Regions from separate parts of the Homo sapiens genome. Here region 2 is linked to region 1. Evidence: promoter capture Hi-C in human tissues and cell types (Jung and others, 2019). All regions are on one chromosome and are shown on one strand. Each heading gives the region's core, a stretch centred on a gene start or on the middle of the fragment in contact. The rest is flanking DNA. Distances are from core to core; before and after follow the strand shown.

What was found. The method cuts DNA at HindIII sites, captures the fragments that hold promoters and counts their contacts. A contact is called where the count stands out against the background at its distance.
Region 2: the fragment with the promoter of OXA1L here is called in contact with the fragment with the promoter of CHD8 in region 1 in 2 of the 25 tissues and cell types used here (dorsolateral prefrontal cortex and hippocampus).

Annotation. Positions count from the first base shown.
Region 1 is chr14:21,452,835-21,459,217 of GRCh38, forward strand. CHD8 (chromodomain helicase DNA binding protein 8) reads right to left here and starts at 3,289. Exons shown (of 38, transcript NM_001170629.2): 1 at 3,198-3,289. LOC124903283 (a long non-coding RNA gene) reads left to right here and starts at 3,563. Exons shown (of 2, transcript XR_007064064.1): 1 at 3,563-3,643. It overlaps RAB2B (RAB2B, member RAS oncogene family), which reads right to left. Exons shown (of 8, transcript NM_032846.4): 8 at 6,186-6,383. RefSeq lists enhancers at 3,032-3,721, 3,586-4,137, 3,752-3,801, 3,812-3,861, 4,138-4,689. The HindIII fragment of the contact is 24,117 bases long and covers 1-6,383 here.
Region 2 is chr14:22,762,699-22,769,081 of GRCh38, forward strand. OXA1L (OXA1L mitochondrial inner membrane insertase) reads left to right here and starts at 3,990. Exons shown (of 10, transcript NM_005015.5): 1 at 3,990-4,066; 2 at 4,550-4,711; 3 at 5,260-5,473. The coding sequence starts at 4,004. It overlaps OXA1L-DT (OXA1L divergent transcript), which reads right to left and starts at 3,864. Exons shown (of 3, transcript XR_001750638.3): 1 at 3,726-3,864. RefSeq lists enhancers at 2,585-3,148, 3,149-3,711, 3,712-4,275, 3,869-4,098. The HindIII fragment of the contact is 11,434 bases long and covers 739-6,383 here.

The DNA of each region.
Region 1 (6,383 bases), core at 2,039-4,538:
TTAGCCGGGCATGGTGGTGCGCGCCTGTAGTCCCAGCTACTCGGAAGGCTGAGGCAGAAGAATCACTTGAACTGGGAGGCAGAGCTTTCAGTGAGCAAAGATCGCACCACTGCATTCCTGCCTGGGTGACACAGCGAGACTCCATCTCAAAAAAAAAAAAAGAAAACAAAAAACAAAGAAATACAACTGTCAGGCTGGGTGTGGTGGCCCACACCTGTAATCCCAGCACTTCGGGAGGCCAAGGTGGGTGGATCACTTGAGCCGAGGAGTTCAAGACCAGCTGGGGCAAGATGGCAAGACCCCGTCTCTTAAGAAAGAAAGAAAGACAACTCTCATTTGGGTGCTAGGTACCAAAGAAAGACCACATCTTGAAAATTAGATACCCTAAAAGGTTTCAATTTTCACGAGGTCAGGAGTTAAAGACCAGCCTGGCCAATATGGTGAAACCCCGTCTCTACTAAAAATACAGAAATTACATTCCCTAAAAGGTTTCAGCTAAACAGAAGCAAAAGTGTACAACGTCAGTGAATTAAGTGAAAAGGAAAGTGAGCAAAATCACAGGAAGATGAAAAGATCACCAACTTGGTGAGACAAAAGAATAAAAGATCATAGATCATGTAAGAGGGGATATAAAAAGTTAAAGTGAGATAAGAAACATGATAGTCTGTCAATGAATCAAATGCTAAAGGTAAAATAGTAAATATTATACCACAATGGTCACAGTAATGTAAGGACAGGTCATGCGAAGACCTGCAGATCAAGGACTGGCTCAAATCCAACTCCAGAAGTAGAGAGATTCTAGAGGTGAAAGTGGAGACTCGAGAGAAATGTTTGTCTTCTGTTTTCCTCCCAAGTATTAGGCTCAATGTAAGCTCAGAAGATAGCTTAACTCTTCCAGAGCTGTAGACAAACAGTTCACTAAAGCATTTAGCATTCATCTGAATGTTACAGTCCTTTCACATATGAGAATATCAAATCTTATTTCTTCAGTAAGCAAACACAGTTTTGACACCCACAACTTAATCTTAAGTGGTAATTTTGCTTAGAAAAGTGGCTCATGCCTGTAATCCCAGCACTTCGGGAGGCCGAGGCGGGAGGATCACGAGGTCAGAAGTTCAAGACCAGCCTAGCCAATATGGTGAAACCCCGTCTCTACTAAAAATAAAAAAAAAAATTAGCCAAGCATGGTGGCGGGCGCCTGTAATCCCAGCTACTCGGAAGGCTCAGGCAGGAGAATTACTTGAACCTGGGAGGCGGAGGTTGCAGTGAGCCGAGATCCTGCCACTGCACTCCAGCCTGGGTGACAGAGCAAGACTCCGTCTCAAAAAAAAAGAAAAGAAAAGAAAAGAAAAGAAAAGAAAAGAAAAGAAAAGAAAAGAAAAGAAAACTGACAAAACCAAAAGAGCAGATGCACAGGACAGATCAAACATGGAGAATACAAAAACTGTTCAAGTACTCATACACTGTTCCATTATATCCCTTATCCCAATCCATTACTCCTTTGCTATCCTCTGGCTGTGTCGCCCAGGCCGGAATGCAGGGGCACGATCTTGGCTCACTGCAATCTCCACCTCCAGGGTTCAAGCGATTTTCATGCCTTGGCCTCCCATGTAGCTGGGACTACAGGCACGCGTCACCATGCCCGGCTAATTTTTTTTTGTATTTTTTGTACTTTTAGAGACGGGGTTTCACCATGTTGGTCAGGCTGGTCTCGAACTCCTGACTTCAAGTGATCCGTCCGCCTCCACCTCCCAAAGTGCTGAGATTACAAGCGTGAGCCACTATTTCAGTTTTAAACTTTCTCCTAAGCCTGTCTCTTCAAACTTGCCTACTCTCTCTTTGGCCAATATCTTTCACTTGCCTTCAGATCCACTGACACGCCTCTCTTGCAGCAGAAGGTCTTCTTACATGGAAAATGTTTTTCTTATCATAACTCTTTTTTTAAGGGTTGGGATAATTCCAAAGTACTTGAAATAAGTTTCTCATATCTTGCTCTATGAGGTTGACTAGAATTTGTTCTGAAACCTATTGGATGACCAATACAAAAGAAATTCCTAAGCAGAAGACACGATCTAATTAACTAACACAGGACACGATTCAAATCACAAACTCACTTTCGATATGTAATGTGCCCCACACCAGATGACTTCAGCATATGCTAACCTAGGCTGAGAATCCTTGACTGAGTCGACAAACTCAGAAAAGCATGGAGATGAAACGATCTGTAGACGCCGCTGTGATGGTAGGATGCAGCAGACACTGATAAGGCAGCTCCCCTGGCTTGTGTTTGGGGCGCTCCGCTGTTTATTCTTTAATAGAAAAAGACAGAGTTCTAAATCTTTGACTTCTGGCTCACTTTGCTTAGCCATACGAAAGAGATGGGTCCACTATATACCTTTTCTGTGAAGACCCTAACCGCTTCAAGACTGTCCCTTAAAAAGCAAGAGGCTGCTGCATTTATACAGCTGCTGCAGGGAAATTCCCTGCGACACTAGAGACAGGTAAATAAACTGCATTCGTTCCAAAGCAGGGGGAAGGGTCTTCTATCAGTGACGAGTTTACATAATGCAACGGAAAACCAGTGAGCTCTGCAGACCTGTCAAGGAGGATGCAAGGCTTGAGCTCCTCTCTTCCCACCATCTCTAAACATTCTCCAACAGCCTGCTCTTCACTGCCAGGAGACCCACAGAACTTACACCTGAGAATGAGTAACAATCTGCTTACGCTTACCCCATGCTTTCCTACCCACCTTTATTATTAAAATACAGAAGAAAAAAAAATAAAAAGAAGTAGAAAACCCTAACCACCTATTTCTGAATCCAAAGTATGGAGTAACCAAACGGGGCCGAGGAGTTTTCCCTTCTCTGAAGAGAGGAGAACAAGGCGCCGCCTCCAATCTACACTACGCCCAGTAATGCAATGACAAGCCCTGAAAACTCCACAGCGTCCCAAGCAGTCCCTCGCGGCTCGGCCCGGCTCGGACCCCGCGGCCCGGCAGCCACCCTCTCCCCCGGCCTCTCACAAAGGAGACTGGTTCAGTCCGGAGCATCACCCCGCACCTGATCCCTCACAACTGGGGGGCGAGCAGGGGGTGGAAGAGAGAGGAGAAGGAGTTACTTAAATCAAATCTCTGAGAGCCTCAGCTTTTGCTGACTCCTGGCCCAGCACTGAGGAGCGGGTGCGAGCGGGAAGCCTACCTGTGCAAGTCCTGGTACTTCCTTTCCAGGCAGCGTTTCAACTCACCCTCTCCGAGAACAAGGCGCCTTCCGGCGGAGCATGGCCAGCCCTCGCCTCAATCTAGCTTGCTAGTAGTCCATTCTCCCTAGGCTCCGCCCCCCTGCGCTCCCATCCGCCAATGGCAGCACCGAAGCCCGGCCTCTTCCAGCGAGCTAGTGTGAGCGCCATCCAGGAAGTCTCTTGAGGGTGGAAGGTCCTAGGAGGATGAGAAGGGTACGTAGGCGACCACAAATATGCCTGATTGAAAATAAAATCTGGCGGCGGCTCGCCTCTGACGACTCAGTTCACAGGCGGCCAGGCCCCTCGGCATCTTTTTTTGACCCCCGCCATTGGGGGCGCTGTGAACTAAAACAACACTTAGTTACCTACTTCTGGGAAGCCATCTTGGCTCGGACTCCGGGACTGGGTGAGAGTGCTTAAAGAATGTGAAGACCCTGTCGGTGTTCTGTCCGACTATCTAGGTCCAGCCCGAACATACTCTGCTGTATACACTTAGGAGGCCCCTCAGTCACGACGTGAAACCCTGGAGTAATGCCGTATGTGGTTACGGGCAACAACCACCACCACCCTCTCACTTAACTGTAGGAGTAAAGCAATTTTAACAAATCAAATAAGCAAAAATTAATTCTTCTAATGAGAGTGAAAGTTGCACTTTCCTAGGGTAATCCTTTATGGACACCTCACTCAAAATATCAGGACATGTATCTATTATAGGTGCTACTAAGCTTTAGGATTCACTGCAAATTTTCCAGTAGGGGCACTGTGAATCAGTTGGAAATCAAGAACAGGACTTAAGGAGGAATTCCTTTTTTTTTTTAAAGGCCTAATTTTTTTTTTTTTTTTTGAGATGGAGTCTCGCTCGGTCACCCAGGCTGGAGTGCAGTGGGGCGATCTCGGCTCACTGCAACCTCTGCCTCCCGGGTTCAAGCAATTCTCCTGTCTCAGCTTCCTGAGTAGCTGAGACTACAGGCTCCCGCCACCACGCCCAGCTAATTTTTGTATTTTTAGTAGAGACGGGGTTTCGCCATGTTGGTCAGGCTGGTTTCGAACTCCAGACCTCAAGTGATCCGCCCACCTCGGCCTCCCAAAGTGCTGGGATTACAGACATGAGCCACCATTCCTGGCCAAGAAATCTTTTTTAAAGTTGTGAGTGAGGGAATCCTTCCAGATTATTAAAGGAATTTCTCAAGGAGTAACATAATTGCATGGTCTTACATGATAGGAGCTCAGAGACATCAAGAAGTCATATGAGTGATAAGACTCGGCCTTAAGCTGGGCGCAGTGGCTCACGCCTGTAATCCCAGCACTTTGGGAGGCTGAGGCGGGTGGATCGCCTGAGGTCAGGAGTTCGAGAGCAGCCTGGCCAACATAGTGAAACCCCGTCTCTAGTAAAGATACAAAAAAAAATTAGCCGGGCGTGGTGGCAGACACCCATAATCCCAGCTACTCGGGAGGCTGAGGCAGGAGAATCGCTTGAACCCAGGAGGCGGAGGTTGTGGTGAGCCAAGATCTCACCACTGCACTCCAGCCTGGGCAACAAGAGCGAAATTCCATCTCAAAAAAAAAAAAAAAAAAAAAAAAAAAAAAAAAAAGACTTGGCCAAATACATTTCCCTGTGTATCAAAATCTGTCAGCCAAGACAGGCGCGGTAGCTCACGCCTGTAATCCCAGCACTTTGGGAGGCCGAGGCGGGTGGATCACCTAAGGTCCGGAGTTCAAGACCAGCCTGACCAACATGGAGAAACCCCGTCTCTACTAAAAATACAAAAGTAGCTGGGTGTGGTGGTGCATGCCTGTAACCCCAGCTACTCAGGAGGCTGAGGCAGGAAAATCACTTGAACTCGGGAGGCGGAGGTTGTGGTGAGCCTAGATCATGCCATTGCACTCCAGCCTGGGCAACAAGCGGGAAACTCTGTCTCAAAAAAAAAAAAAAAAAAAATCTGTCAACCAAATTCTCTCCTGGCTACTGCTGCCATTATATCAATTTGATGTTAGTATTAAGATTTATCAGAACAATGTGTTTGTCTGTAAATGCATATACAGATATAACCTTAATTATTAATAGTTTCTAGGATGAGAGCCTATTATCCATCTGGTACAGAATAGACCTGTCATCAAAGGAGCTATAGATATTATGGAAATGGGAACAGGTGTGCCTGAACCAATTTCTGGTACCTACACTGATCTTAGTATGATTTCCAATGGTCTTGGCCTTCAAAAACCAATGGACATTGGTAAGACTATAGATGGAAAAAAAAAAAAAGTGGACATTATTTCATAACTACCATTCTTCATATGGGGTGGCATATCCACTTTTTATAATTCTTCATGACCACTTCACTCAGAATACAGATGATTTTGCCCAGATACTTTTTTTTCTCATGCTTCCCTTACAATTGGTGCAATACCCAAGTACAGAAGGTCATAAGTCGGCTTGGTTAATAGAACAAGATATGGGCATTAATATTAAAAAACTGTGCTCCAAAATATCAAAATGGTATCCTTTATTGACTCTGAAAGCAGTAGCTCTAGGCAGAATGCTGTCTTTGACCAATCCTCTAATGCTTCTCAATTGCTAAAGATTGTTTTTTTGGGTAGTAAAAAAAAAAAAAACAAAAAAAAAACCTTCTGTACAGAAACTAGTTTTTATTACTTTAGTTTTCGCCCAGAGGTAAGGGGGCAGGCTAACTCCAAGTTCAACAGCTTCAAATCCTTTTTGGAATCAGATAGGATTTTAAAAACAAAACAAAAGCATAACCAAAGCAATACCCCAAATGTCTTCCAACTTCCTGTGGTGCACTGTCAACTATTACTACTACTACTGGGGTCAGAATCGAGTATAGCATGAATCCCAAAGAGGCTTCTTCATTATCTTTGATTTAATTCCCTGAGAGGAGAGTATCTACTAATGTTTGGGATACAATTAGAAATGACACATGGAGTATGAATAGCTTTGATACATGCATATATTTAATAATGAAACAATTCATCAACAGCAAAAAGAAAGTAGAAAAATTCGTAAGACCTCAGGGCTGTGGAAGAGAACGGGACATCAAGGAAAAAAGATATATATAGCAACCAACCCAGAAGGCTGCATGATGAGTGAAGCAAAGGCAAGTTTGGCTAAGATAGTATTATATGCTCTG
Region 2 (6,383 bases), core at 2,740-5,239, 1.3 Mb after region 1:
GCAGGCTGGGCACAGTGGCTCATGCCTGTAACCCCAACATTTAAGGAGGCCAAGGCAGGAAAATCACTTGAGGCCAGGAGTTCGAGACCAGTCTAGGCAACACAGCAAGACTCAGTCTCCATTAAAAAAAAAATTACTGACCATTGATAGTGCACCTTGTCACCCTATAGCTCTGATCGAGATGTACAAGGAGATTAATGTTGTTTTCATGCCTGCTAACACAAAATCTTTTCCTTAGCCTGTGGATCAAGAAGTACTTTTGACTTTCAAGTCTATTATTTAAGAAATATATTTTGTAAAGTTATGGCGGCCATAGATAGCAATTCCTATGATGGATCTGGGCAAAGTCAATTGAAAACCTTTTGGAAAGGATTCACCCTCCTAGATGCCATTAAGAGCATTTGTGATTCATGGGAGGAGGTGAAAATATCAACATTAACTGGAGTTTAGAAGAAGTTGATTCCAACCCTCATGGTTGATGTTGAGGAGTCTAAGACTTTATGGAGGGATGTAACTGCAGATGTGGTAGAAACAGCAAGAGAACTAGAATTGGAAGTGGAGTCTGAAGATGTGACTGAATTGCTACAATCTCATGATAAAACTTTAAGAGATGAGGAGTTGCTTCTTCTAGACAAAGTGGTTTTTTGAGATGACATCTACTCATGGTGAAGTTGCTATGAACATTGTTGAAATGACAACAAAAGATTTAAAATATCATATAAACTTAATTGACAAAGCAGCAGCAGGGTTTGAGAGGACTAACTCCAATTTTGAAAGAAGTTCTACCGTGGGTAAAATCCTTTCAAACAGCATCACATGCTATAGAGAAATCTTTCATGAAAAGCATAGTCAATTGATGCAGCAAACTTCATTGTCTTATTTTATGCCACCCCAACCTTCAGCAACCACCACCTTGATAGTCAACAAACATCAAGGCAAGACCCTCCACCAGTAAAAATATGACTTGCTGAAGGCTCAGATGATCATCAACATTTTTAAGCGATATAATATTTTCAAATTAAGGTATGTACATTGTTTTTTAAACATGTTATTGCACACTTAAGAGACTACAGTATAGTGTAAACATAACTTTTTCTTTTTTTTTTTTTGAGATGGAGTTTCACTCTTGTTGCCCAGGCTGGAGTGCAATGGCATGATCTCGGCTCACTGCAACCTCCACCTCCCAGGTTCAAGCAATTCTCCTGTTTCAACCTCCCAAGTAGCTGGGATTACAGGTGCCCACCACCACGCTTGGCTAATTTTTGTATTTTTAATAGAGACGGGTTTCACCATGTTGGCCAGGCTGGTCTCAAACTCCTGACCTCAAGTGATCCACCCACCTCGGCCTCCCAAAGTGCTAGGATTACAGGCATGAGCCACCACACCCGGCCTAGTATTTTTTTTTTTAAGAGATGGGGTCTTACCATGTTACCAAGGTTGGTCTCAAACTCCTGAGCTCAAGCGATCCACCTGCCTCAGCCTCCCAAAGTGCTGAGATTACAGGCCTGAGCCACCATGCCGGCCCAACATAACTTTTATATGCACTGCAAAACAAAAAAATCCCTGTGACTCACTTTATTATGATATTGGCTTTATTGTAGTGGTCTGGAACCCAACCCACAGTATCTTCCAAGTTTGCCTGTACATTTTAGCTATCTATTATTAAACAACTTAGTGGCTTAAAACTACAATAATTTTATTTATTTGCTTGTAATTTTGCAATGTGGGCTCAAATAGCCTTTCTTTGCTCCACACGCAGTCACCTGAGGTGGCTCCAGTGGGCTGGAGAATCCACTTTTTAAATGGCCTTCTTCACGTGGCTGGCAAAAGTTGGTGTTGACTGCTGGCTGGGAGTTCAACTGAGGCTGTTGGCCCAAACCTCAGTTCTTCTTCACATGGTTGGTTGGGCTTTTCACAGGCAGTAAGTCTGAGAAGTCAAACTTCTAACACAGCAGCTGGCTTCCCCCGAATGCAAAAACAGAAGCTATCAGGCCTTCTTAAGGCATAGTCCCAAACTGGCATAACATCACTTCCAACGCATTCTACTATTGATTAAAGCAAGTGACAGGCCCAATCAGACTCAAGAGAAGAGAACTCCTAAAGGTGCAAATATTGGGAAGCCTGGTTCATTTGGGGCCACCAAAGTAGCAGTGTACTGTAAGATAGTCACCCTGCCAAGTGTTCTGTAGCTGTATATTTGTAATTACTTCTAATTGTATTGAGTTTTAAAAGTAATCTCTAAAAAAAAATCAGTGTTTCCATATCAAAAATCTATTGATGTTTATAATAGCATCCAACATATGCAAGTGTTAGCTCATACCACTAATTATTACTAAATCAGTATTATAGTTCTTTGCCTCCTATTTTCGCCATATCTGTCAGGTACATTCATAATCGTTCCAAATGAGCAGTCACTGAAATAATTTCAGGTTATTGTATCTTTCTGAAACTATAATTTGTTGTTTAGAAAGTAATCTGCATATTGAGAGACTTTGTAAGGGTTCAAACATAATCAAACTCCACCTTTCTGACCAGTAACTTTTTTCCCTGAAGATGAATGCTTTTAACTTCAAGAAACAGAACACCCAAGCAACAGACTTAGAGTCTAAACAGTAAAGACCTTTAATCATCTTTTTTTTTTTTTTTTTGAGATGGAGTCTGTCGCCCAGGCTAGAGTGAGGTGGCTCCACCTCGGCTCACTGCAACCTCCACCTCCCGGATTCAAGCGATTCTCCTGCCTCAGCCTCCCTAGTAGCTGGGACTACAGGTATGCACCACCACGCCCGCCTAGTTATTTTGTTTTTTTGTTTTTTGTATTTTTAGTAGAGACAGGATTTCACCATGTTGGCCAGGCTGGTCTCGATCTCTTGACCTAGTTATCGAGACCACCTCAGCCTCCCAAAGTGATGAGATTACAGGTATGAGCCACTGCACCCGGCCAAGACCTTTAATTAACTTACACAACAAAGTCTGGAGATAGGCAGTTCCAAGCATGGTACAGCAGCTCAATGATATCATCAAGTATTTGGGTGTTTTCTATCTTTGCCCTCAACCATCTTCAGCACGTGAGTTTTTCTTTCCTTTTTTTTTTTTTTTTTGAGACGGAGTCTCGCTCTTGTTGCCCAGGCTGGAGTGCAGTGGCACAATCCCGGCTCACTGCAACCTCTGCATCCCGGGTTCAAGTGATTCTCCTGCCTCAGCCTCCCGAGTAGCTGGGATTACAGGCGCCCACCACCACGCCCGGCTAATTTTTGTATTTTTAGTAGAAATGGGGTTTCACCATGTTGGCCAGGATGGTCTCGACCTCCTGATCTCGTGATCCACCCACCTCGGCCTCCCAAAGTACTGGGATTACAGACCTGAGCCACCGCGCCCGGCCTGCACGTGAGCTTTTCATCTGGAAACTTGTCCCCTCATGGTCAGTCCTCACACCACCCCACTTACAGAAGAAAAAAATGGAAAGGTGAAGTCTCCTCTGGAAGCTTCGTCTTTTTATCTGGGAGGAAAATATTTCCCAGAAGCTGCCTTCTTTTAATTTCTGTCAGACTCTAGACTACCCTCAAATTTCACTGGACCTGCGATTACAATATTACCTAGCAATAAGAATCAAAAGAATCGAACATCATTGAGTGGGAAAAATCCTCTGCAAGTACAGCCAAGCCTTTTCTGAGGCTATTTTTAAACTTACAAATCAGAGGACAATCGCGACATTAGAGGAAAATTACCCAGGTTTACGCCATCACTAACGATGATAGCTTACGATGATAGCTAACCCAGCTCTTCAACTTCCTTTCAATCTCCAGAAAAGGCTCTCTGCGTGCTAATGGTAACGTGGCTTTACAGATTTTTACCCACTTCAAATATGGCCGCCAAGCTCCGTTCTCTTTTACCGCCTGATCTGCGGCTACAATTCTGGCTTCATGCCCGCCTCCAAAAGTGCTTCCTCTCGAGGGGTTGTGGTTCTTACTGCGCAGGCGCAAAAGCAAGTCCTCTTCCGGGCAAAATGGCGATGGGACTAATGTGCGGACGCCGGGAGCTTCTGCGCTTGCTACAGTCCGGGCGTCGGGTAAGGATGCCCCGGGGCAGAGCACCGGGATGCTGCCCTGACCCAGTGAACCAGGCCCCAGGACAGCTCGTGCTAGGGGTATCAGCAGACGCTGACCTGCTCACCGGGACCTGAATGTCATGACCTCGGGTCATGTGAGGACGCGCTAGGGTTAGTCCCCGACACTATGGGCCCAGCAGCCCGGTGTCAGCTTCTGGAATTGGCTTGGCTCCTGGCGAGAGCACCTCGGCCTCGTTCTCAGGGCCCTCCGATGTGGGTCTGCGATAACTGAGATGCGGGGAACCCAGGTTCGAGCTTCGCTCTGCAGGCACCACCCGCTGCATGCCTTCGGGCTAGCGGTCTGCGCGCGGTGATAGCAATGTCCTCCCCTGTAGTGGCCGAGCTGCCTGCTTCTTGGGGAGTTAGCATAATGAATCCCGTTTGCACCCACGCGAGGACTTCTGCTCCCGGTAAAGGGGCTCCATCATCCTTTTACACGCTCAGGTCCACAGCGTCGCAGGGCCCTCGCAATGGCTTGGGAAACCGCTGACCACACGGCTCCTATTCCCAGCAGCCCCGTGCTGCTGTCGCCCACACTACCTCTTCCTTGCGGCTTCCGGCCCCCGCAGCCTCAGTACCTCTGCTATCTCTTTTGCAGAAGTCCAGGTAAGAGGCCTTTCGTTCCTGCAATATTAGGAGTGGTGTTTCCTGGTTGGTTTCATATTTTGTTTTGTTTGGGAGCAGGGGGAATATGGAGCAGAGTTCTTGTCCACGCTCCACACAGCTCTCCAAAATGATAGCATCTCTGCTTAGGATGGATTTTCAATTCAGTGGGGAAATGATTGAAAGTACAACAGGAGAGATGTTATATTTGGTTTTCTGAGCTGTTTTAAAGAAAAGCAATTGTTTCATGTTAATATATGGCAAAAATCATGATAGTGATATTCAAATGGCTGAAGTTTGGAAAACAGTGATAAAAGAAATAACTTCCCAGCATGAAGGGAAGTCATGGATTCTTACTCAAAGTAACTTCTCTTCCTAACTATTGATAAAAATGAGATGTCCTTTTTAAGCTTGAAATCTGCAGACACTAGGCTAACCTGGAAGAACAAGAAGTAGAGAGAACAGAACCCAGTACTGGTTATTATAAAAAGATCTCACTTGCTTTGTGTTCGCTACTGAATAAATATAATACAAGGCTTTCTTTCACACAGGTTCAGGCCCCTCCTGTTGTTGCTGCAACTCCCTCACCCACAGCAGTACCTGAGGTGGCTTCTGGAGAGACTGCAGATGTAGTCCAAACTGCTGCAGAGCAGAGCTTCGCTGAACTGGGGCTGGGGTCATACACCCCAGTGGGACTGATCCAGAATTTACTGGAATTTATGCATGTTGATCTGGGCCTACCTTGGTGGGGGGCCATTGCTGCATGTAAGGGGAATATACCCTGGACATGGGTTAGGGATTTAACCTCATAGATGGCAATTCTTTGAATGGATTCAGGAAGTAGTTGCAGAAGCTCTGGGGTCAGAAGAGCAGATGATTTCAAATGAGCAATAGAGGTTCATGATACCTAGATGCACTCTGCCTATATTTCTTAAAGAGCATTATAAAACCACCAGATCATCTGGGATTCAAGAAGTGTAGATATTTGAATACAAACATGGGGTTAGAGTCAGGGGACCTTATTAACAGTCATGAAGCTATCCTGGTTTAGAACAGAGGTTCAGGTCAGGCACTTAAACCCCTAAATTGGGAAGCCACTAGCATTGCTTTTGTAAAGGCTAGAACTCTGCTTTGAATTATGTGTCTTTCTGCCACGTTGCTCCATCAATTATCTTTTCTCCCCTGTGTCTTCAGCATTTCCCTCCTCACTGCCCTACCCCGAACATGTAAACATGCTCAGGCACACCCATGTGTTACCTGGGGGAAGGTTTCTTCCCTTCATCCTTAGTTCCCCTTCACTTACTATCCTATCTTCTTCCTTTGATGGCTGTTATTTATTTTGTTGTTGTTAATTTTTGTGGATACCTAGTAGGTGTATATATTTATGGGCTACATGAGATGTTTTGATAGAGGCATGCAAGGTGTAATAATCACATTATGGAGAATGAGATATCCATCCCCTTAAGCATTTATCCTTTAAGTTACAAACAATCCAATTACACTTTTATTTTATTTTTTATTTTATTTATTTTTTTAAACGGAGTCTTGCTCTGTCACCCAGGCTGGAGTGCAGTGGTGCAGTCTCAGCTCACTGCAACCTCCACCTCCCAGGTTCTAGCGATTCTCATGTCTCAGCCTCTCAAGTAGCTGGGACTACAGGTGTGCCACCACACCT